Linked DNA regions of Homo sapiens: all the other regions are linked to region 1. Evidence: promoter capture Hi-C in 16 types of primary human blood cells and fetal thymus (Javierre and others, 2016). All regions are on one chromosome and are shown on one strand. Each heading gives the region's core, a stretch centred on a gene start or on the middle of the fragment in contact. The rest is flanking DNA. Distances are from core to core; before and after follow the strand shown.

Region 1 (3,501 bases), core at 632-3,131:
ATGGTAAATAAATGGCTTGCCTTTCAATGTTTAAAAATGAGAACAGACTGGCCTCCACATGTTAAGTAAAACATTTACTCACAAATAGAAATTTTAAAAGTTATTTAGCATTCAAAAAAGGTGAGGGAAAAGAAAACAGAAACATCATAAAAACCCCACAGGCGGGTAGGGAGGGGTGTGCAATGGGGTGTGGGGAGCAGGTCCTAGGTCAAAGGAAAGCACATGTGAATCGTCTGAAAGACACACCAGAGCAGAAACTTTTATCCAGCTACTTCGGCAGCTATTTTTCAATATAGGATGGGTTTTGGTGACTGCACACCTACAACACACAGTGTTATATAACATGGAATAAGCTCGCTCAAAAAAAAAAATTCAGAAAAATCTTCCTGAGCAACTGTGTTAGAAAATGGTTTTGAAAAGCTCCAGTTACACGTACCCTTTCTACTACCAACATCAAAACAGGCTTTTTTAAAAAAGTCAGTTCTGTTTAGTATACCTACACAGCCCAGCAGAGCATAATAAAGGGTGGAACCTACTCAAGACAAATCCTTCAAAATATTCTATATTTGTAAAAGGCTGGTTTTCTCAAACGGCAGTTTGCCCATTTGATTCAAGTGACATGGGCGAGCTTGCCTACCCTACATTCCAAAGTCCAGCAGCAAACCAAAATATGTTCCACAAGTAAAGTTTGATCCACCACTTCTAGTAAACACTTGGTTTACTGGAGTGGGGTGAGCGTGGTGCTTCTCAAACGAAGGGAAGGAAGGTGAATGCGGAACAAAAGTAAAAAATATCATGTCGCCAGGTCCCCAGCAATAAATCAACTGTACAAGCTCCGAGCAGGCCTCACAAGTTGTCCTCAACTCATTACCTCTTCATCAGGAGAGAGACACCCCGTTAATTTGCGGGCTTTCGAGTTTCAATTTGCACCTTTCAGACGCAAAGCAGCGTCCCACTCCGGCGTTACAATGGGGCGCTGTGACGACAGCCAGGGCACGCGCAGCCCCGGCCGTGGGCGGCCCGGACAGCCCGCAGCTGCCTCCCCACCCAGACCCGCCGGGCCGTCCCCGCCTCCCCTCGAAGCCCTCCCCGCCCCCCCGCAATTACCTGCTCCGCCACGGCCCGGAACAGGCACGACCCGTCCTTGGCGACCAGTTTCCGATACAAGCCCAGTTTCCGCAGATAGGCGTCCATGGGCGTCGCGTCCTCGCGGGGCCCCGCGCCGCCCTGGTCCCCGCCGTCGGGGACGCCGACGGCAGCCTCCATGTTGCTGGTCCTGCTGCAGGCCAGGCGCGGCGAGGGCTAGCCCCACATGGCCAGGCCGCCGGCTGCTCGACGCCCCGGCCTGGGGCAGGCGGCGGCTCGGGCTGGGGCTCGGGCTCCGCGAGCGGCGGCAGGCGGCGGCGGCCCGAGGCAGCGGTCCGCGCTCTCCGGGCGCATAGGGAAGCCCTGCCTAATGCATGGCTGTCCGCACGCGGCCGCCTCCTCGGAGCGAACACGCGCCCACGACAAACGGGGGGAGCGGGATTAAGGAAAACCCCGAGAGTGAGTAGTCACTTCCCGACGGCCTCGCTGCCTGACTCAGGACCCAGGCCGGGGGTCGCCGCCCCCACAAGTTTCCTCCTCCGTACCGGTGTGAAGCGAGAAAACCCCCGCCCCTGGCGCGCACGCTGGGCCGGCTCAGGTGAAGCGGGGCCTGCGCCCCCGCGCACTCCCCACGCCGGGAGCCGAGGAAACCAAAAAGAAAGACGCGGCCTTTCGTTTCCCCACCTCGCTGGAGGGCGCCGGAGGGGCAGGGAGCGGGTGGGGGCGCCCGGGAGAGAACAGCACCTCGCAGCCCAGAATTTGTTTTCGCTTTCGGCCCGACAGCGGAGAGGACGGCGGGAGATGTAGTCTTGGCAGCCGCAGGAAGTCGGCTTGCGGCGGGCGGGGACGCGCTGGCCGGCCTACCCGGGGGAGGTGCCCGGGAGGCGCGCGGACTACAAGTCCCTACAGCGCGGGCGCGCCGCCGCCACCGCCACCGCCCCAAGCCGGCTTCGCGCTGCACTGGCGCCGCGTCCGCGAGCAGGCCGAGGGGCTCCGCCGGCCGATGTGGGGCGACCTGCGCGCGCCACCCGCCAACCCTGCCGCTGCGCCGCGGGAATCGCGCGCGCCGGGCTGGCGTGGAGTTGCCAGGGACACGGCGGCGCAGTGTCGGCCCTTTGTGTATTTCTTTCCAGAGGGCGCACCTGTCTGCTCCCTTCCCCCCGGCCTGCTCTCCTGGTGTTTCCATGGAGGTGGCTTTAACGGCTTAAGCAGAAAATAGAGCTAATTGGCTGAGGCTCCGGGAACTGGCACGGTGCGGGACGACACACTCTGTCCATAAATCAACCGTGGACTGCTGATTGCTATTAGTAGTACAGCTCACGTACTACGGCAAGATGAAGGCTTTGCCAAAGACATTTTTGTTCACCCTGTCACTGTAGCTGAGCACCCCATCACAGAGACATGTCACTGTCGGAAGACGTTAGGGTTTTTTTTTCCCCCTTAAAAAATTCATCTTGTAAATTGCTTGATAACATGCTGACTGGACTGGCCATGGCTTCCACCAGTGCTCGAGGCTTCAGCTCAACTTCCCACCCTCCGACGTTGAATGGCAGGGAATTGACAAAGTTAAATTATGCTTTAGAACCCAGAATTTATCCAGCATGCTTCTGTTGCACCAAAATTTTATTTTGCTAAGATACAACATCTGGTGTCCTTATTTAAATACATGGTTAATCATAGGAACTAATTCAGTCTTTTAGGCTATGGTGGAGGAGAGGGAGAAGAAAAGGGAGCATTACTATAGGTTTAGACATGTAGTCAAATACCTTGGAATGGGGGGCAAGGCAGGCCAGGTGGTGAGAGTCCAACGACAAAAATTTTTTAAAAACTACGTTAGACACTTTTCAGTATTTTCAGTGCAAGCAATCAGTCATGTATTCACTTTCCTTGGAGCGTCTTTGATTTCTTAATGTTTAAATATTGTATCTCAAATTATGCTGCTTTTAGAGAATACAAACGTTATCGTTACCTAAATGAAAAAATGTCCCTGCCTCAAATTTACTTGTTGTAGCGAAGAAACACTTTGAAATCAGGTTTAGAAAAGTATAGTTTCAGCTGGGCGTGGTGGCTCACGCCTGTAATCCCAGCACTTTGGGAGGCCGAGGCAGCCCGGTCACCTGAGGTCAGGAGTTCGAGACCAGCCTGACCAACATGGAGAAACCCCGTCTCTACTAAAAATACAAAATTAGTCGGGCGTGGTGGCACATGCTACTCGGGAGGCTACTCCCAGCTACTCGGGAGGCTGAGGCAGGAGAATAGCTTGAACCCAGGAGGCAGAGGTTGCGGTGAGCCGAGATCCCAACATTGCATTCCAGCCTGGGCAACAAGAGCGAAACTCCGTCTCAAAAAAAAAAAAAAAAAAACGGAAAAGAAAAATATAGCTTCAAGTCAAACCTGTTGCTTTTCTTTTTAAAA
Region 2 (3,501 bases), core at 623-3,122, 1.8 Mb after region 1:
CTTAACCCACACCAGTGTAGCCCTAGTAAATTTAAAAAGGGAGAGAAGAAAACAACTAAGTTTGCCTCATTTGGGGCATTCCATCCTCTATAAATTTTAGACTCTTTTCTAAAAGCCCCACTTTACTTGCCAAAGCATTATGCAGTGGGCACTGGGGCCAGGGTAATCTCTTCATAATTGCAGGGGTCTTTGAAGAGTTCACCCAGGAGCTTCAAAATGAGGAACAGTGCTTGCAATTTCCTTGAATACTAAGAACATCCAGCTATTTGTAGACAGATAAAAGAGAGCAGCCCCCAGAGGTGCTGATCCAGCCAAGATAGCTCATCCAGGTGCGTATAACTCCCCACCAAAGTTGGCATACCAGCATGTTATATAAAATTTATCCTTTTTGATGTTTACTTGAGTTCGATGATTTTTGTTAGAAAATGTAAGCATGGAATAGAAACCAAATGCAAATGACATACATGGAGAGGGATATGTCTTCTTTGTCATACAGATCAACTGTGCTTTTTTTTTTTTTTTTTTTTTTTTTTTTCAAAATTCTGAGTCAACGTTTCCTACCATTAAAGTTTCAGCTGCCAGTTCCTTCATTTTGCTCTCCTCTGATCTGAGAACATTAGCAGCAGGAGCACCTTTACTCTTAAATTTAGTTTAATGTAAGTACTGCAAGCCCTGCTGGCAAGCCTCAAGGCACAAACTCTGAATGGGGGGTGGTCAGAGCTGAATGATAAAGTGGAAAAAAAGTTATCAGAGCTGAATGATAAAGTGGAAAAAAAAAAGCATGTTGGAAAAAATATCCCTCAATCAATCTATGTTGGACAGTTTAAGCTTAGAGTCAGGATGGAAGTTGAACAGGCTTTCTCTTTGTTTCTGAACCCCACATCCTACCTTACCTATGCCCATCGGGAAAGTGAATTTTGTTTCTCAGAATCAATACGTGGCCACATAAGGTATTTTGTTTTACACAACAGATAATGTGTGATCTGAATTTTATGACAGAGTTAATATTTTGAATGCAGCAAATATTTAAAGGGGTCCTGTAACAAATTAGTTTCTTATCTAAGTAATTGCCATCTTTTATGCCTTACAAGTTCAAGCAGGGTTTGCAGTACTTCCATTAAATTAAATACCTGTAAAGAAAGCCTTTTGGTCTTTGTTAATATGAGTTGCATCATTTTCCTGGTGTTGGTCAGACAGCATTCTCAGTTCCCATGTGAGCTCCAATTTAGACTCAACAATGAAGAATGGGACTAGTGCTATGAGGTGACTGACCCAGGCCTGTAGCATAAATGGAGCATATCACCACTAGTTATGGCACCTCCTTAGGGTTCTCCCAGATCAACATCTCAGGGGAAAACACACAAGATGGTGTGGCTGCAGGAAGGGAAATTGCTCAGGTTCAGGTGAGTAAGAAAGAAGAAGAATGAAAGATACCTCTTTGGCTGCTACCAAATGAGCTTAGCCCCAGGAGCTCAGGCTGAATCAGCCTGTTAGGAGGACCCACAGGAACCTCCGCCAGTGCTAGCAAGTGGGCAGTGCTACAGTGTGGCATCATCGGGTGCTGAGACAAAGATCAAAAGGCCGCCTGAAGCCATTCCACTGTTGGTATTCAGAAGAAATTTGGTGTACTCTTTGATCTGCTGGTTGGCTCTTGTATCACAGCTACAATCTCTAAGTTTGGCCCCCACATGCAAAGACAAATGAAAATGGAGAAATACAGGATGAAAGGTTTGAGAGTGCTAGGTCAGGCTGAATGTGTCCCATGGTGTGAGCTTAAATTTTTGGCCCCCAAGTAAAATTCTTCAAAGAGTAACTCTCCTGCCCTCTATCCCCAGAGATGCCTTTATCAGGAAACACAAAGGAGGGAGACCTACTACTATGTAAATGGAGGCTACTTGGAGAATGACTATGTCTGAGGCTGACCAGTGTCTGCAGGGTTCAGTCACTTTGGAGTAAAAACTGAGATTAGAGAAATAAAGCCAGTAAACCACAGTAAGCAAGTTTATTATACATCATCACGAGTTCAAAACAAGTAGGATTTTACTAAAAATCATTCATAAGAATTAAAACTTTTCATATTATCCAAGCTCTTTTACTATGAAAGTTTAATGAAAACTACAGAAGAAATATCACTAATTATGCTCCCTAAGTAAAAAAAAAAACATAATTAAGTTTATAAAGAGTCAGTAATAATGTTTATTCTCGGTATCATAATTTTTGGACACTTCTGGCACTCTCTCATGGGTAGATAGGTTGTTTAGTAAAATAAATAGAAAACACACATTTCCTACCAGCTGACATTGATGGCTAAATCACAAAATCAAGCAGGAAATGAGTTTGAAGGCAAGCCATATTTCACGTGACTTACATTTGCAGATTACTGCTGATGGTCTCTCCAGGCTTATAGACTTCAGCCTGAAAATCAGGAAGCAAAGAATAATAGCAAAGAAGAAAAATTTAAAATCATTCAGTAGTGTAACTCCTCTCCCCGCTCCAAGTCATGGAATAAGATTCACTCTTACAACAAATACTTCCTACCATCTAAGTTTAGATGAACTTTTAAAGAAAATCCCCAAGTATAGATCCTATGAGAGAAACTAATCACTAAATCAGTGAAATGCCAAAACATCTGAAATATGTATATGTATTGATGTATTTCAATACAAATGTGACATTAGGGATAACCATTTGTTCTCTCAAATTTACGAGATACAGTTATCTTTGCCAAAAACGGAGAGCATCTCAGTTCCCTTTCTGTTCCCACCTAGTTCTCAACAGGACTAAAGGACTTATCCTATGCCTAGTTTTTCACTCCCCTCAGAGGGTCAGGTGAACTGGGGAGCAAGAGGAACTGGCGCCTTTCCCTACTTCTCTTTCAATTCGTTTATTGAGGTAAGTGGCGAGGGCCTGGACTGAGGAAGCTTGAGAAAGACTGATGGAGGAAGGGCTGGCTGTAGGGGTCAGGGAAGGGGCTGCCTGAAGAACAGCCTGCCTCTCCAAGGAGCTGAGGAAGTCCGGTCCCAACCTCGCCCCTGCCGTCACGAACCTCGGTGCACTGGCCCAGGGAAACAACTCCAGTTTTCCGTTCCGCCGAAGTCAGTCCCCCACCGGCGGCAGGTGCTGGGCGTTGGCGCTGCCCCCTCCTCTCTCAGTGATTCCGAAGCCTGGCTCCGCCGGAGCGGAGACAGGGGACGCCGAGAGCGTCTCCACGGAAACAGAGAGGCGAGGCATGACGGCCGGGGGTGGAGTTAGGCTAAACCGGGCCTCGGGATTGGGGCAGCTCCCAGACTCTTCGGGCTTGGGGGCGGAGTCTGGCGAGGGGTGGAGCTTACTGACGGCCGGGCGGGGCCCCCAGATAGCTGAGGCTTTTCAAGCAGGGCTGCTTTCAGAAGTTAGCTCGCTTTTAGGCATTTTCACGTAACCCAAGAGGCTCGAATTTGCCACTTTCATTTCTTTCGTGGCCTTGCATTCTCAATGCTTTTTCTTCATTTCTCTTTTGTC
Region 3 (3,501 bases), core at 345-2,844, 1.7 Mb before region 1:
TAGCTTCTCCTACTTAGCTCAGTAAAGTAATCTTTACTTAAAATTATATATGAAATAGAAAATTATTTAATATTTTCATATAGTGTTAATACAATTTGATTTCAGTATATACAAAAACAGCGGGTCACTTTTGGAATTGATGAACCTTTTAATTATGATACATTACATATATTTTAAACAAACATTTGCCATTATGACAGGTGACATAGACACATTTATCTATAAAGCATTAATTTTAAAAAGAAAATTGTTGGATGCTTGAGAAGTAGGAATTTTATGTGTCAATGATGTCCTTTTGTTTTCCATTAAAGGGAACCTGCTGTATGTATAAAAACATTTTTGAGTCTCTGTTTCTAAATAGTGTTTTCTCAGTTAGTTTTGAAAATCACAGTCTCAAAGGCTAGCATTATTCAAAGGATAAAAATTAAACTTGGTATTATTGAATGTAGTTTAGTGATATGCAGTAGGGGCTCAAAATAGCAGTGGCTTACACAGATAGAAGTTCTTTCTTATCTGAGTGAAGCATGAAGAATTGCACTCATCCTTCACTCACATGGTGATATGGTTTGGCTCTGTGTCCCCACCCAAATCTCATATTGACTTGTAATCCCCATAATCCACATGTGTCAAGGGAGGAACCCGGTAGGAGGTGACTGGATCTTGGGGTTAGCTTTCCCATGCTGTTCTCATGATAGTGAGTGAGTTCTCACAAGATCTGATAGTTTTATAAGGGGCTCTTCCCTCTTCACTACTCACACTTCTCTCTCCTGCCACCATGTGAAGAAGGTCCTTGCTTCCTCTTCACCTTCCACTATGATTGTAAGTTTCCTGTGGCCTCCCCAGCCATGTGGAACTGTGAGTCAATTAAACTGCTTTCCTTTATAAATTACCCAGTCTCAGATATTTCTTTATAGCAGTGTGAGAACAGACTAATATACATGGCCACCCCTGGCAGCACGAGGATGAGAAATGAAGACTTTATTCAGGATGGCCAGATGCGCAGTTAACTGAGAGAGTACTGGAGAATGGTTGTTGAAGCTTTCAGTTGGTCATAATCACACATTGTAAAACACTTTCTCAGGTAAAATTTAATATAGGAACTAGCAGAGGCACTAACCTTTTGAGTTTTCATGGAACTAGGCTTCTTCACTGTTGTATTTACATACACTACATATACATACACACATATATAGTATGTATACATATGTGTGTATATACATTGTATATATATTGTACATATATACATATGTACAAATGGTACAGCATATACACATATATGTGTATATATAATTTATATATTTAATTGTTTAATACTTTTTATTAAACATTTTTATTAAATGTTTTATTAAAAATTAAACATTAATATGTTAAATTTTATTGGCATTTAAGATAACCTAAATAGCATTTTATTGATATTACTATTAAATAGACGCAAACTATTGTCAGCAGAATTATTAAGATAAGTTGGGTGATTTTCCCCTTGAGGGACTGAATATACAAACTGACTCTATACGACAACAGAATTGTCACACACAATGTCTGTAGCAACTAGTTGGAGAAACTATCTTAGTCCCTTTGGGCTGCTATAACAAAATACCATCAACTGTGTAGACTGAAAAAAAGAAAACTAGAAATTTATTTATCATAGTGTTGATGACTGGGAAAACCAAGATCCAGGTGCTGGCAGATTTAGTGCCTGGTGACGGCCTGCTTCCTGGTTCACAAATGGAGCCTTCTCACTGTGTCCTCACATGGTAGAAAAGACAAACGAGCTCCCTTGGGCCTATTTTATCAGAAAACTAATCCCATTCTGTGGAGGTGTTATGACCTAATCACCTCCCAAATGGCCCTACCTCCTAAAACCATTAACTTGAGAGTTAGAATTTCAATATATGAATTTGGAGGAGACACAGACATTCAAACCACAGCAGGAGCTATACCACAACCTCTGCAGCAACAGCTCAGTATGGTCACAACTCGGTCAATGACTGCTTACTTCCCTATTTTTTGCATCAGGACAACTTTCAATTCAGGATCAACCAGAGAAAGCCAAATATACTTCCCAAACCAGTCATCCTAGATGTCTTATTTTTATTTAGCCTGCCTCCAGTTCCTCTATGTGAATGAGCTCTACTCAGAGCACAATACTATAAAGCTTTTCCAGTTCCCACTCTACCACTGTCCTACTTTGCCAAGAGCAAGTGACGATAGCTAAGTCCCTCAATATAACAAGTTCTGAATAAATAGCACCTGTTTGTTCTTGTTTGGGTGACCTTCATTTATTTCCACGATCTCAATAAGCTACCATCCTTGAGCTACAGGTTTCATCTTTTACTTTTATGCAATTTAGTCTAATTAATCTGCCATATCACACATTGACTGTATAATACTATGTAAGCCACTCTATCTTCTATGTCTGTTTCTCTGCAAAATGGAGACAAATATTACCCCCTTCACAAGGGCTAATGTGAGGGCCAATGAGTCAAAACATAAAAAACTTGAAACACTACATGCAACTAATAAACTTTAGTTATGATTATCATTATCATCACTATCATCATCAAAATACAAATCTTCTTTCATCTAAATTGTATCTGAGTACCTGGGATCTCTGTGAGTCCAAAATCAGGGTTCAATGATAAATATATGTTTTATTTTTCACCCTGAAGATTGTATAGTGTGTGTGTGTGTGTGTGTGTGTGTAAAATTAGCTGAAATTTGTTAAATTTAAAAGATGATGAATTTGTTGAAAGTATACTTCTTTGTCTTTCTATAATATGTGTATATATTCTTGTGGTGACCATGAAGCTATGACACTCAGATCTACTATGGCAGCCCCAGCTGTAGCCCCTCTGGATCCACCTCCCCATCCCTCCATCCTCTCATCCCTACTCCCCACTTACTCCATATTTGTGCTTAGGGCCAACTTTTCTCAGGCTACTCCCAGCAGGCAGTGGTACTAGTGCAGGAACACTCTCATGGAATATACTACTCATCTAATGAGCAACTTTGGCTTAAAGATGCCCCATCAGCCCAGCCAAAACTTTCTCAGAGCTCTGCTACAAACTGAAATTCTTCTTTCATAATCCTCCATCCTTCCCTTGTCTTTACAAATGTTAGTTCTGCCTCTCTGTCTCAAGTCACTCCCTCCTTACTCATGCTTCCTCCCTTTATTTTTATTCATGTATTTTTTTTTTTTTTTTTGAGATGGAGTCTCGCTCTATTGCCCAGGCTGGAGTGCAGTGGTGCGATCTTGGCTCATTACAAGCTCTGCCTCCTGGGTTCATGCCATTCTCCTGCCTCAGCCTCCCGAGTAGCTGGGACTACAGTCACCCGCCACCACGCCTGGCTAATTTTTTGTATTTTTAGTAGAGATGGGGTTTCACTGTGTTAGCCAGGATGGTCTCGATCTCCTGACCTTGTGATCCACCCACCTCGGCCTCCCAAAGTTCTGGGATTTCAGGCATAAGCCACTATGCCTGGCCCCTTTATTCTTCACAG
Region 4 (3,501 bases), core at 1-2,500, 1.7 Mb before region 1:
CCTCTTCAGAACAACTTGCATGAGCTGTGGTCACTTCTTAACTTTCTGTTGCCAGATGTGTTTAATTCAGCAGATGTAAGTATTTCCTGGTGCTTTCTGGTTAATAATAATATTTTGCTTAATGCTATATATTTTTGTAATAAAAGTGGCCTGCCTTTTAGCATGGCTTGAGGTTATTATTAATTTTTTATGCTTTTATTTACATAGTTAGCCTGGTGTTATCTCCTAGGTTGTCTCTGTATAATGGGAATTTACTTTTGTGCCTTTGGTTTCAATCTTATTTCATTATTATTATTATTATTTTATTTTTTTTGAGACGTAGTCTCACTCTGTCACCTATGCTGAAGTGCAGTGGTGTGATCTTGGCTCACTGCAGCCTCCACCTCCGGAATTCAGGTGATTCTTGTGCCTCAGCCTTCCGAATAGCTGAGATCACAGGTGTGTGCCACCATGCCCGGCTAGTTTCTGTGTTTTTTGTAGAGATGAGGTTTTGCCATGTTGTCCAGGCTGGTCTCAAGCTCCTGGCCTCAAGCGATCTGCCTGCCTCAGCCTCCCAAAGTGCTGGGATTACAGGCACGAGCCACCACACCAGGCCTCAGTCTTCTTTAAATCATTGTTTTCTCTATCTGAAATGGCATAAATTGTCACTCCTATTTGGTAAGTCAGGTTGGCCTGACTTTGTTTCAGTGGCTCTAGGTTGACTGGTTATGTTTTTAAGGTGCTGCTCAAGGTATTCCTGAAGTGATTTGTATACCTCACATTGCTTATGTTTTAAGTCCCAAGGATGACTGTCAAATTTAGTGAAATCTGTCTGGCTTTTCTTATATTATAGTCTAACAAACAAATAGAACCTAATCTTTATGGATTATTTATAGTCATAGAAAGGATAGTAATGGTTAATTAGCTATTTGAACTGTTAATAGTAATATAATAACTATGTCAAGAGTTTGTGCTATTAGAAATTGCAGTTTTTTTTGCCTGGACCAGTGTTTATTTTTGAAGCTTTGTTTGCATAGCTGGCGTCTTATGTGTATTGGAGGGATTTGAAGAGCTCCATGTTAGTATATTTTTGTACAATTAAGTTATAAAAAGGTATTAATTAATTTTGTTTTTTTTCTGTTGAAGATTGTTTTGAAAGAATAGATTGTGTTGTAAAAAGATATTTAATCAGACTCCAAAAGCAATTTTAGCTTCGATTTTATGTATTTTGATGTTTTTGAGATAATTCCTGTTTCTCACTACATTGACACTTTCATTTACTTTAAAGCAGTGAATTCTAAGATTATGTTTACTCAAAAACAAAGCACATATATAATACATATGTTCAAGAGATGAGGTTAGGGAAACTGCCCTTGTTGAAATCGTAACCAAATATTAATGAAATGCTGGTAATTTCAATTTCATTTAGTAAGTTTGATTAAAATTGACATTGTTCGTAAACTTGTATTTGAGTAGTGCGAATGGTCTCAGAGAACAAACTATAAAATGTTTTAATTTTCAAGCTTTTATGAAACTTGAAAGATACTTTACAAGAATATTAATTTTCTAATCCTATAGAACTTGCTCTCCAACTTTTTACTGTGAAACTTGTTATTTTGATGTTTTTGAGAAGAATGTTTAGAAGGTAGTGTGATTTCTGAACTACTTGTTTTAAAATTAGTAACAATGACACATGAAAACCAGGATTGGACTAAGTGATTTTTTTTTGTGGGTTACAATTCAAATTACTAATTCTAGAAATCATTTCTATATCTGGTATTATAGGGTATTTGTTAATATTATCTCTGATCTGAGTATATTTTTTGTTTGTTTATCTAGGACTTTGATTCCTGGTTTGATACAAACAACTGCCTTGGGGATCAAAAACTAGTTGAGAGGCTTCATATGGTAAGTATTTTGGAGTAGTGTTAAAGCATATTTATGATGGGAAAAAGGATAAAGGTTTAAATTAGTAGATTATTTTCCTGTTAATAAAAAACACAATGGCTTAAGAATCAGATCTGCTTGAATTCTGACACTTAACTCTTACATCTTACAATCAGTGTAGGGGGTGATGTGTGGTTGTTTCAGTGTTAGAACCTAGAATGGAATCCTGACTTAAGGGAGAAAGTATTCTCTTACAGTTATACAAAATACAGTGGGGGGAAGAAGAATTGCATAATAATTAATATAGACAAGTTTTTGTTGTTGTTTTTGAGACAGTCTCACTTTGTCGTCCAGGCTGGAGTGCAGTGGCATGATCTTGGCTCACTGAAACCTCTGCCTCCCAGGCTCAAGCAGTCTCTCCCCATTCAGCGTCTAGAGTAGCTGGGGCTACAGGCTCTGGCCACCATGCCCAGCTAATTTTTGTATTTTTTGTAGAGATAGTGTTTCACCATGTTGCCCAGGCTAATCTCGAACTTCTGAACTCAAGTTATCAACCTGCCTGCCTTGGCCTCCCAGAGTGTTGGGATTACAGGCATGAGCCACCACGCCCGGCCTTAATAGACAAGTTTTTAAAGCTTAGTTCAATTTACATTCCATGGAAGAATCTAACAGGTTCACTTTTGAAAGGGCTAAAGATCCATCTGTTTTTTCTTAAATCTAGCTACATTGTGTATAAACAACTGCTAATATTGCATTATGAGCACAGTTGGTATGTTTTTGCTTGCTGTATAGCTTTGTTTCTACATACAGCTTCCTGTGACGGTTCACAAGTAAAAGTTGGTAGGTAGAGAAACTTCTCTAACAGACACCAGATTAAAATACCCTGCTAAGCAGGTTAAAGCAGGAGCTTGTAAGAATGTTATATAAAGCCCTTAATGACCTAACTCAGGAATTCTCAGCCTCTTTTGACATTTTGGTCTGGGTATATCTGAGAGGGGTAAGGAGAGAGGGGAGAACGTGATTGTCCTGTGTATTGTAGCATGTTTAATAGCATCCCTGATACTTTTACTCACTAGATGGCAGTAGTAACATTCCTCCAGTTGTGACAACCAAAAATTTCTCTAGACATTGCAGATGTCCCCTGGGGAACAAAATTGTGCCCCTCCATGACCTAACCTTTTTAACATTCTTTGGCATCTGTTTTACTTCTTCATATATTGAGCTTTAATTTGATAGATTGCTGACCCCACTGTCAGTTTTCTGTAAACATTGTGGTAATTCTAATCTATTTTTGCTTATCATTTTTGCTACACCTAGAATCCTTTTTCCTGGTCTCTTTACTAATACCTAGTCCAAGACTCAGCGACATCACCTCCACTGAACCAGCCAGGCTGAGGCTGGCCTAGGTGCCCTTCTGTGTATTCCATCTTTAACAATCTGAGCATCCTAATATTATAGGACTTTGCAGAGGATATTGAGATGATTCACAAGTGTTTTCCATACTGGATTGTAAGCACAAAGGCAGGAAGCACAGATTTATTTGTCTTTGTATACCTGGCACAATGCCTAGTTAGAGTGGATATTTGAACAGGGAAAAAAATTTAAGTTCATGATTGTTCAAATATTTCATTATAA
Region 5 (3,501 bases), core at 354-2,853, 1.6 Mb before region 1:
GCCCAGGATTTTGTGAATATCTTTACATTTACAAACATCCTTCTTGATGATGATTTGTTACTGTGTATAATAAAAGTTGGTGATTTGAGTTGTTTCCCATGTGCTAGATTGCATTCACAGAGTGGATTGAACCACCTAAACGAGAAAGAAAAGCCAACTATGCCGTTGATGCATATTTCAGGGAAGCTCTTCGTGTTAGTGAACCTAAAGCACCCAAGGTGAGTTGACTGACACAGCATAAAAATATCTAAAAATTTTGAAAATGTAATTTTTTTCATATATTCTTGCAAAAAGATTGATAATTAGATTTTGTGTTTCTTTTTTTTTTTTTTTTTTGAGACAGAGTCTCACTCTGTTACCAGGAGTTCAGTGGTGCGATCTCAGCTCACTGCAACCTCCGCCTCCCGGGTTCAAGCAATTCTCCTGCCTCACCCTTCCGAGTAGCTGGGACTACAGGCACCCACCACCACCCCTGGCTAATTTTTGTAATTTTAGTAGTGATGGGGTTTCACCATGTTGGCCAGGATGGTCTTGATCTCTTGACCTCATGATCCGCCCACCTTGGTCTCCCAAAGTATTGGGATTACAGGCGTGAGCCACTGCCTCTTTCCTACATTTTGCATTTCTTTAGAGTGTACTCTCTTCTGTTTTTAGTTAACATTTTTCAAAAATTAATTTTGAATCTGTGCATTTAAAATTAAGATATAAATTCAGTTTTATTGAAAGATGCATTCAGTTGCTTGCAGAATTGGCTGTTGTGGTTTATGAAGTGAGGACTAAGGATACATTTAAAATGAAATTTCTTTTTTATGGATAACACTTATTTTTGTTTTTCTTTAGGCTCCTCGACCTCCAAAACAACCCAATGTTCAGGATTTCCAGTTCTTTCCTCCACGTTTATTTGAATTACTGGAAAAAGAAATTCTGTTTTACAGAAAAACTATTGGGTACAAGGTAATTGAAATTATCTGCCTTTCTGTTCATTCCTATCCAGAAATTATGGAAGGTATAAACATTAGTTATAAATATTTATCTAATTTGGACCTAGTGTGAAACAATACTGCTTTAGCCTAGTCTAGTTGTATGTATGAAATACATAAACTTGGGTCTGTTTTTCTTTAACAAGAAAAAATAAGACTTCATGACCAATCTGGTTTGTTTTTAACATAATACATGCAATGTATCAGTATATTTTCTTTCCTGGTTGAATTGAAACTTGTGAAATGTCAGTTAGTTGGTTCATCACATGCTCTTTAAAATTTACTGATTTGATGGCATAGAAAAATATCTTTTAGGTACCTCGAAATCCTGAGCTGCCTAATGCAGCACAGGCACAAAAAGAAGAACAGCTTAAAATTGATGAAGCTGAATCCCTTAATGATGAAGAGTTAGAGGAAAAAGAGAAGCTTCTAACACAGGTATAGCCTTTAATCAGTACAAACTTTAGTAACAGTTTGTTGTAAAGGACTGTGTTAGGTTATGTTGGGGCATAAAAATAAATACAAGTTTCTGCTTTTAAAGATGGAATAATTGGAGACAATAAAGTATGGGCATGTGGATAAATGCTCCATCTGATTGTCACTAGTTGAGGTAGTTGAGAAGACTACAGATTTTATTACTCTGGCTCGGTAGAGTGGGTATCTTTTTTATCACCTTACTTTGAATGTTCCCGTCTTTCCTATGAATTTTCCACATTGCTACCCAGTCACCATTTTCAACTATAAATCTTGGCTTGGTTATTTTTTAAACATCCTTTGGTGTTCATCAAGGTCTTTCAGAATCTGGCCTTTGACTTACCTTTAAAGCTTCATTTTCCTTCCATTTTTCTACTTGCTCATATTTTTGCCCTTTATGTTATTCACTCTTTCTGGCCAACTGCTAGTAATCCTTCAAAGCTCAGTGAAACTGTCACCTTTTCATACAGTATTCCTTACTCTCAGCCACTCATATTTAATTGCTTGGGTATTTGAGCAATATATAATGTGTTGTCAAAAGTGTATATTTATGTACACGAAAAGTTACCACTCTAAAAGAACTTAATAAACTAGTGAAAATTTGTTTTTGTAATATTTAGAAGGTTTGCTAATAGCATGTTTTCCAAGTTTAATGTGCTGTGATTAAATATTTTGTTTCTGTTCCTGTGAAGGGATTTACCAATTGGAATAAGAGAGATTTTAACCAGTTTATCAAAGCTAATGAGAAGTGGGGTCGTGATGATATTGAAAATATAGCAAGAGAAGTAGAAGGCAAAACTCCAGAAGAAGTCATTGAATATTCAGGTAATTCTTTTAAGCAGGCTGTTGGAGTTTAGTAAGAGCTGTTGGAAGGTTCTTGTTTTCTTATTCTGAATTATGTTGTGATTAGCTAATTTTGTCACAGTGTAGTTAGTACCTTCTTCATTATTTTTTACAAATTAGAAAATGTTCTGTTTCCAGAAATGGCGTAATGGTTTCCTTTTTAAAAATTTTTTAACCCTAGCTAACTCTAGCGACAGCAAAGAAAATCAGAATAAGTCACTGGATAATTGCCCTTGCATTTTTATCTTAATTTCTCTGCATAACTTCAAGTATTATGTGTTGTGTTTCCTGAAGTCAGTTGTATTATTAGGTTAACATGTGAGGGTATGCTGTGGTGAGTCTGCTTAGAATAGCAGAAATTTAAGAATTAGAAGATAAATAATCCAGTTGATCCCATTTTTTTTACATTAAAGAAATAAAAATATAAATGATTTGTTTACTTTGTCCAACTTTTACAGCTGTGTTTTGGGAAAGGTGCAACGAGCTCCAGGACATAGAGAAGATTATGGCTCAGATTGAAAGGGGAGAGGCGAGAATTCAAAGAAGAATAAGCATCAAGAAAGCACTTGACACAAAGGTAATTTGCTTGTTAATAAGTTAGGTAGTTAATAAAATAACTCCTAGCTGTGAGTATGAGAGAGTGACTTTTTATAAAGGAAAAGAAGTAAGGGTTTACAATTTAAAATTTCTTCAGAGTAGCATTCAAACATGGTATTGTCAGCAGAATTTACCTATACACTAGACTGATAGATCTGAGTCAAAGACACTAAGATTAGCTTTTTACTAAGTAGAATCAGGAAGTCTTAGTCTGTATTTCTCTTTATAATAATAAAGACTATAAAGGTCTTTCGGGACAAAGATTATATAAAGCAATTGAAGTGCTCTAGATAGAAAATTCTGATTTGAAATGCAACATTTTAGCTAATTATACTAAAGCTGAGTTTGAAATACAGATTATATAGGATTTGTATTTTATATAATATAAAATCTGACTTTCATAGATTGGACGGTACAAAGCACCTTTTCATCAGCTGAGAATATCATATGGTACTAACAAAGGAAAAAACTATACTGAAGAAGAAGATCGTTTTCTGATTTGTATGCTTCACAAACTTGGATTTGACAAAGAAAATGTTTATGATGAATTGCGACAGTGTATTCGCAACTCTCCTCAGTTCAGATTTGACTGGTTTCTTAAGTCCAG
Region 6 (3,501 bases), core at 682-3,181, 1.1 Mb after region 1:
AAAGGTCACAGGATATTTGACTATGATTATAAAGAGAAAGTGAAGACACGGCAGAGAGAAATACCTGATGAACATAGGTCCCAAAGAGGCCTGAGAAGCCAAGAATAAAGAAGTTATCTGGAGCAGGGCATTTCCTAACATATCTGAGCTGGAAGCAAAAGTGAACAAGGGGAGTGAAAAATATGGAGATTTTTCAGGTAGAGAACGGGCAAGCAGAGGCAAGTTATGTCAGAGATTTTACTTTCTTTGTAAAGTGTGAGCCAACTTTGAGTTAATTCCAAGGCCTGGGAATCAAATACATTAGAAAAGTTTGAAATTGGCAGATTGGAGAATATGAATTACAGTCAATTAACAATGAATAAAAAAACTTCCATGCAGGAGTGAGTGCCCTCCAGTGATTGTAGAACATGTAATGTGATCAGCTGTCCTAGGTAGGGGATGTTGTCCAGCAACGTTTGTGGTGTTAGGAGCACTTCAAAAACTTTGTCTTTTGTGGCCCTTGTTTATATCAGCCATGGCTGCATCTGGGTTTATGCATTTGGTTTTCTTCCTAGAGTCTTGCACTACACTTTTCCTTTAGTAAACTGTGTTCGGCTTGATATCTTGTTCTTTTCAAGGTTACAGCACATTTCCAGTGTGTCACAGTCTCTCTGGTCAAGGAGGCTCTGAATTAATCTGGCGCTGGCTGCTGCTCACTAGAGCAGCATTCACAATGTGGCTAAAGAGGATATTTGCAAGATACGCTTACTTGTCCTCTGTTTCAGGTAAGGAGGCTAAAGCTAGGGCCACACTGGGAGATTTCTGGCTCATTGCTCTCAGTAACACTGCTCTACAGTCTTATCGACAAAAAGTCCATGAGTGGGAAGGAGGATTAGAACCTTAAGGCATAAAAAGGGAACATTTAAGGTTAAAAACAATATTCCTCCTCAATAGGGTTGACTTGTACTCTAGCTATGTAGGACTGGAGCGCTGTATCGGGGAAAGCTGATAGAGCAGATGCTCACTTAACCCTCTCTTCAGGAGGGTGGTAAATTACCACAGCATAAGCATTATTGAGCATTTTTCTAAGCACGTTGCAGCCAGTATTACTTCCTTCTCAGAAAAGCCATACAAACAGATAGTGTTATTGCTCTGCTTTTTCCAAAAACGGAACTGGAAACACAAGTAGGTTAAGCAACTCCCCTAAAGTCACACAACTAGTAAGTTGGTTGCCCCAAACCTTGGTCATAAGTTTGCCCTTTTGAGAAAGACAATATTAAAACCAAAAACACTACAAAATGTAATGGGTGAGGGCAGCTATCTTGGTAAATAATCCACCCTTAGCCATACTCTGTCAAGGGGGACTTCATGGTACAAGGTCATGACAAGACCCAGAAAAATCAAGTGTCCTGTACATCATATTTGAGTAGTAATGACTAAAATTATTCTCACTGATTAACATCTCTATTGGGTCTGCTCACATTCTTGAAAGGAATCACATTACTATTTATTTTCTAACTCTACCTTATCTCTTTTTAATATTGATTTTCTTTTTATCCTGTTTTTAATGATTCTTTTGATCACTTTGCCTTCTCTTGAGATATTTATTTCCTTTTCTTCCCAACTGGTCTTTTTATTCTTTCTTACAAAGCTTTCAATCAGTGTTTTCCACATAATGTTTATTTTGCCTTCCTTTGCAGTACCCACAGAGGAAAACATGTCAGGTTTTACTAGTAGAATCACAGAATGTAGAACAGAAAAGGTCCTTTGAGATACTTCTGTCTAAGCCCACTATTTTCAGAGGAGGAAACTTCCAAGTGAGGCCTCTTCTTTGTTAACCTCTGTACCTGTGTTTTGTCTCTGCTCGTTTTCAGAGAAGACCTCTTCCGTCATTAGCTGGGTGGCACTGAACAAGCTACCCAGGGTGCCAAGGCTTAGTTGCCTCCTCTGAAATGGTAAGAAAACTTACCATTAATGATCATCGCCATCTTCCTTGCCTGCTTCCCTTTCCCATTCTCCCATCCTGCTTCTCCCAGGGCTATGGTGAAAGGCAGATTGAGATATCTCACTGGAAATGTACTGATCAGAATTAAAACACATATACAAATATTTGTTTTCTTCCTTTTCCTTCATTAACAGTTTCTTTTGCCACTCTAATGACAATATAGGTTTCTGTTACTCTAGTTATCAGCCTACCAAACTTTTTAACTTTTTATATATTTTTAAAAGATTTCCAATTACTGCTTTCCTTTTCTAAGCTTTTTCAATGTATGTGTGTGTTGCTTATTTTTTTTTAAATTTGCAGTTTCCCAAAGTTGCAGAATGGTTAGGTCATTGGATAGCTGACTCTTGGCTTGATGAATCAACTCATTTCCTAGCAACTAGGACAGAGAAAAGTAAAAAGTAATGTATTACAAAGTAGCAAAGCTAATGCCCCATCTCTGATTATTAGTTTTTTTTTTTTTTTTTTTTTTTTTTTGAGATGGAGTCTTGCTCTGTCACCCAGGCTGGAGTGCAGTGGCGTGATCTCAGCTCACTGCAACCTCCGTCTCCCGGGTTCAAGCGATTCTCCTGCCTCAGCCTCTGGAGTAGCTGGGATTACAGGTGCACGCCACCACGCTGGGCTAATTTTTGTATTTTTAGTAGAGATGGGATTTCGCCATGTTGGCCTGGCTGGTTTTGAACTCCTGACCTCGTGATCCACCCACCTTGGCCTCCCAAAGTGCTGGGATTACAGGCGTGAGCAACCACACCCAGCCAGATTTTTTTAAAAGTACAGAAATTCTTGGGCTGGGCGTGGTGGCTCACGCCTGTAATCCCAGCACTTTGGGAGGCCAAGGTGGGCGGATCACAAGGTCAGGAGATCCAGACCATCCTGGCTAACATGCTGAAACCCCATCTCTACTAAAAATACAAAAAATTAGCCAGGCGTGGTGGCGGGAGCCTGTAGTCCCAGCTACTTGGGAGGCTGAGGCAGGAGAATGGCATGAACCCAGGAGGCGGAGCTTGCAGTGAACCGAGATTGTGCCACTGCACTCCAGCCTGGGCGATAGAGCAAGACTCCATCTCAAAAAAGAAAAAAAAAAAAAAAAAGGTACAGATATTCTCCAGGCAAGCCAGGAATTTGAGAACAGAGAATGAGGCTATGTGAGAGTTAATTTAGGCTTCAGACAAATTCGAAGTAAATCATTAGTAGATGACTATGGCAGGGGACAGGGCGGGGAGGGGGTGCAGAGAGGGAGAAATGTTCAAGCTATATGCTGTCGTTTATCAAAGAAAGTGCTGGTTTGACTGTAAGTCAAGGAAGTTAAAAACCTGACAGATGCTAGTTGCGGTGAATCATGCCTATAGTCCCAGCACTTTGGGGAGTCAAGGTGGGAGAATCACTTGAGGCCAGGAGTTTAAGACCAGCCTGGGCAACATAACAAGAGCTTGTCGCTACAAAAAATTACAAGTTAGCCGGGCATGGTGGTGTTTGCATGTAGTCTCAGCTAACTCAGGAGGCTGAGGTAAGAGGATCAC
Region 7 (3,501 bases), core at 480-2,979, 1.0 Mb before region 1:
TGCCCTTTCCAATCCCATGCTCCCATTTGGGATCCTTTTCTTTCAGCATGAATTGTGTGTGTGTGTGTGTGTGTGTGTGTGTGTGTGTGTGTGTGTGTGTATTTGCATTTCTGGTAGTACTGGTAGTTCTGGCAGTACTGATGAAAAATTTGCTCAACTTATGTTTATATTTAAATGACTTTCTTTTTTTTTTTTTTCTGAGGGTATTCTAATTGTGTATAGATGTCCAGGTTTTCAGGGGCTGGTTTGTTTGACACTTAGAAGATACCATTTTTTATCTTCCGGCTTTCATAATTTTTGTTGAAATCAGTCATCGGTCTTATTGATCCTTCAGTGAAGATAATATGTTTTAGTCCTTTAATTGCTTTTAAGATTTTCTCTTTGTTTTATATTTTTGGGAGTTTGATTATGATGTATATTCTTGTCATTTTCTTTGGTATTTTCTTAGTTTCTTAAATTTTGGGTTCATATTATTTGCAGTTTTGGAAAAATCTTGATTATGATTTCAAATATTGTCTCTCTTTTCCTTCTGGGACTTCAATTTTTCATACATTAGACCTTTTAATTATTGTTGCTCACATTTTTTACATTCTTTTTTTCCTTACTGTGCTTCAGCTTGGCTACTATGTAATGACTTTTAACAATCTTATCTGCTGTGTCTAGGCTGCTGTCAAACCTATATCATTAGTTCTTTGATGCTGATATTAAATTTTTCAGTTCAGAATACACATTTGATTTTTATAAGTTTCAATTATATTTGAAATTCTACTAATATTTAAATGTAAGACCTCAAACTATAAGAATCCTAGAAGAAAATTTAGGAAACATCATTCTGGACATTAGCTTTGGAAAATAGTTTATGACTAAGTCCTGAAAAACAATTGCAAGAAAAAAATTGACCAGTGGGAACTAATTAAACCAAAGAGCTTCTGTATGGCAAAATAAATTATCAATGGAGTAAAGAGACATCCTACAGAATGAGAGAATATATTTCCAACTATGTATCTGACAAAGGTATACTATCCAGATTTGTAAGAAACTTAAACAATTGGACAAGCAAAAAACAAATAACTCCCTTAAAAATGGGTGAAAGACAGAAGCTTGTCAAAAGAAGATGTACAAGCAACCAACAAACACGTACAAAAATATTCCTTATCAGGAATCATCAGAGAAATGCAAATCAAAACCATAATGAGATATCATCTCACACCAGTCGGAATAGCTATTATTAAAAAGTCAAAAGACAACAGATGCTGGCGAGACTGCAGAGAAAAGGGAAAGCTTATACATTGTTGGTGGGAATGTAAATTATTATACTTGTGCATCAACCTAACAGTTCAGGTCCTGTGGAAAGAAGTTTGGATATTTCTCAAAGAACTTAGAACTACCATTCAATCCAGCAATCCCATTACTAGGTATATACCCAAAGGAAAATAAATCATTCTACTAAAAAGATACATGCACTTTTATGTTCATTACAGCACTATTAGCAATAACTAAGACATGGACTCCACCTAAGTGCCCATCAATTATAGATTAAATAAATAAGATGTGATACATATACACCATGGAATACTACACAGCCATTTAAAAATAACAAAATCATGTCTTTTGCAGCAACATGGATTCAACCAGAGGCTGTTATCTTAAGTGAACTAATGCAGGGACAGAAAACCAAATACTACATGTTCTCACTTATAAGCAGGAGCTAAACGTTGTATATTCATGGATATAAAGATGGCAAGAACAGAAACTGGAGTCTACTAGAAGGGGGAGAAGGGAAGAGGGCAAGTGCTTAAAAACAGACTATTGAGTATTATGTTCAATACCTGGATAATGGGATGAATCATACCCCAAATCTCAGCATCATGCAATATACCCATGTAACAAACCTGCACCTGTCCTCTCTAAATCTAAAAGTTGAAATTATTTAAAAAACAAAAAAAGAAATTCTACTTATTTCATTTATTCTATGTAACTCACTCTGCTTTCTTGAATATGCTAATCATAATTATTTTAATGTATTTGTCTCTTGGTTCCAATATATAGATATCTGTAGTTCAGTTTTTATTTATGTTTTTATTATCATAAAATATATATAACAAAATTTTATCATTTAACATTTTAAGTGTATAGTTCAATAACATTAAGTGCATTCACACTCTAGGTGTACAACCATAAGCTTTCATTTTTAAAAATCTTGATTATTTGCCACATTTTCTGCCACTTTGCATGCCTAAACATTTTTTCCCATATGCAGAATCTTGACCTCAGCTTTTTAGTTTCCTAAGTGTGCAGCTTCAGTGGAAATGTCTTGAGAAAGATATTAATATGCTTTATTGCAGGTCCCTTCTCTCTGGTAGGATTTTGCTGTTTTTCCCAATTTAGCTTTTCAGCCTACTGCGCCATTCTGAAACTCAGCAAGTGTCTTTTGGGGAAAACAGGCTTTGCGGTTGGTGCTCTAGTCTTAACCTGTTATGCCAGCCCTGACTAACCGCTAAAAGCTCTAAAAGTGTTAATACTTCCTCCCCACTTCCATGGCATTTTCCTGCTTATAATCTAGTTAGCTGCCATAGAAGAAATCAGCAAATATCCAGATTCCCCCAGGGAAATGAAAGCTCCCCCATGTGACTGTGGAACTCCCTATTATCTCTCATGCCTGAATGTGATTATGATGCCAGTAACAGAATTTTCTGATGGTATTCTCACCCTTCTTCCAAATATGCCCCAGTTAGAGGAGCAGTTGTATTGCTTGTTTCAAATAATCAATGAGCAAATAGCCAAGGGTAATTTTTAGTGATAGACTTCCAATTTCCTTAAAATGAGTTCCAAGAGACTGGTAATATTTCATAAAATTTTAAGACTACAGATCCCAATATCCCTGTTCTTTCCCCTGTTTTGACTGCAGTCTTGGGTCAGAGGACAGAAACTCGGTGGCTTGCTGGAGCAACAAACATAAGTGAGTCTCTACATGCCCTGAGAGCCAGCTGACCTCAAAGATAATACATTTATTTTTAGATTATAATACCATGGGATGCCTATCACATTGTTACTCCCTTGCTTATGTTACTCTTGCTTCTGACATTATAAGTTATTGAATACTAACTACATATCAGGCATTGTACTAGTTACTTCTTGTGGGCAATATATTATTCCTCATCATGATTTTATGAGATATGTATTATTTTCTAAACATGTGGTAGAGCCAGGATTTGAACCCAGGCAGTCTGTCATTATGGCCCAGGTTTATTCTCTATAAACTATACGTCCTCCTGCTATATTAAACATGCAACAAAAGTCAATTAGCATTGTCTGGAGGAGCAGGGATAGGTGAAATGCAAGAATTTGGGCATTATTCATAAGCTGCGTGCAGGAGCAGATGAAGAGGCTTTTGAATAGAGACCTCTCTTTCAAAAGAGACAGTTACATACTGTTCTGAGGAGTGAAATTCAGTATGACTGGGGAGTATAAAGTGAGAGGTGAGAGTCATAGTAAGAGATA

Evidence for each region. Contacts are between HindIII fragments. The CHiCAGO score rates a contact against its expected background, and 5 or more counts as called.
Region 2: a contact is called between a fragment that was not itself captured here and the fragment with the promoter of OTUD4 in region 1, in 1 of 17 cell types (fetal thymus). The highest score is 6.8, in fetal thymus.
Region 3: a fragment that was not itself captured here is called in contact with the fragment with the promoter of OTUD4 in region 1 in 2 of 17 cell types (non-activated CD4 T cells and total CD8 T cells); the score reaches 7.4 in non-activated CD4 T cells.
Region 4: a contact is called between a fragment that was not itself captured here and the fragment with the promoter of OTUD4 in region 1, in 10 of 17 cell types (non-activated CD4 T cells, naive CD8 T cells, total CD4 T cells and 7 more). The highest score is 14.7, in non-activated CD4 T cells.
Region 5: a fragment that was not itself captured here is called in contact with the fragment with the promoter of OTUD4 in region 1 in 6 of 17 cell types (total B cells, total CD8 T cells, total CD4 T cells and 3 more); the score reaches 10.4 in total B cells.
Region 6: a contact is called between a fragment that was not itself captured here and the fragment with the promoter of OTUD4 in region 1, in 2 of 17 cell types (M2 macrophages and M0 macrophages). The highest score is 6.8, in M2 macrophages.
Region 7: a contact is called between a fragment that was not itself captured here and the fragment with the promoter of OTUD4 in region 1, in 3 of 17 cell types (fetal thymus, activated CD4 T cells and total CD4 T cells). The highest score is 7.6, in fetal thymus.

What each region holds. Positions count from the first base shown.
Region 1 is chr4:145,178,708-145,182,208 of GRCh38, forward strand. OTUD4 (OTU deubiquitinase 4) reads right to left here and starts at 1,882. Exons shown (of 21, transcript NM_001366057.1): 1 at 1,108-1,882. The coding sequence starts at 1,266. It overlaps LOC124900794 (a long non-coding RNA gene), which reads left to right and starts at 3,486. Exons shown (of 2, transcript XR_007058294.1): 1 at 3,486-3,501. RefSeq lists enhancers at 984-1,813, 1,814-2,643 and silencers at 989-1,448, 1,569-1,798, 1,889-2,288. The HindIII fragment of the contact is 3,984 bases long and covers 1-3,501 here.
Region 2 is chr4:146,942,663-146,946,163 of GRCh38, forward strand. It overlaps TTC29 (tetratricopeptide repeat domain 29), which reads right to left and starts at 3,202. Exons shown (of 13, transcript NM_031956.4): 1 at 3,047-3,202; 2 at 2,369-2,415. It overlaps TTC29-AS1 (TTC29 antisense RNA 1), which reads left to right. Exons shown (of 7, transcript NR_188447.1): 2 at 184-329; 3 at 2,769-2,892. RefSeq lists a silencer at 3,195-3,334. The HindIII fragment of the contact is 2,093 bases long and covers 827-2,919 here.
Region 3 is chr4:143,500,458-143,503,958 of GRCh38, forward strand. No RefSeq gene overlaps it. Among named protein-coding and RNA genes, the nearest start is that of SMARCA5, 11 kb to the right of the region's middle. The HindIII fragment of the contact is 1,117 bases long and covers 1,037-2,153 here.
Region 4 is chr4:143,528,640-143,532,140 of GRCh38, forward strand. It overlaps SMARCA5 (SNF2 related chromatin remodeling ATPase 5), which reads left to right. Exons shown (of 24, transcript NM_003601.4): 8 at 1-75; 9 at 1,819-1,887. Among named protein-coding and RNA genes, the nearest start is that of SMARCA5-AS1, 16 kb to the left of the region's middle. The HindIII fragment of the contact is 500 bases long and covers 1,001-1,500 here.
Region 5 is chr4:143,544,630-143,548,130 of GRCh38, forward strand. It overlaps SMARCA5 (SNF2 related chromatin remodeling ATPase 5), which reads left to right. Exons shown (of 24, transcript NM_003601.4): 17 at 108-218; 18 at 841-954; 19 at 1,296-1,418; 20 at 2,147-2,279; 21 at 2,756-2,874; 22 at 3,299-3,501. Among named protein-coding and RNA genes, the nearest start is that of SMARCA5-AS1, 32 kb to the left of the region's middle. The HindIII fragment of the contact is 399 bases long and covers 1,405-1,803 here.
Region 6 is chr4:146,287,276-146,290,776 of GRCh38, forward strand. All of the region lies in intron 9 of SLC10A7 (solute carrier family 10 member 7), which reads right to left. Among named protein-coding and RNA genes, the nearest start is that of REELD1, 74 kb to the left of the region's middle. The HindIII fragment of the contact is 607 bases long and covers 1,629-2,235 here.
Region 7 is chr4:144,166,861-144,170,361 of GRCh38, forward strand. All of the region lies in intron 9 of LOC105377460 (a long non-coding RNA gene), which reads left to right. Among named protein-coding and RNA genes, the nearest start is that of GYPA, 28 kb to the left of the region's middle. The HindIII fragment of the contact is 901 bases long and covers 1,280-2,180 here.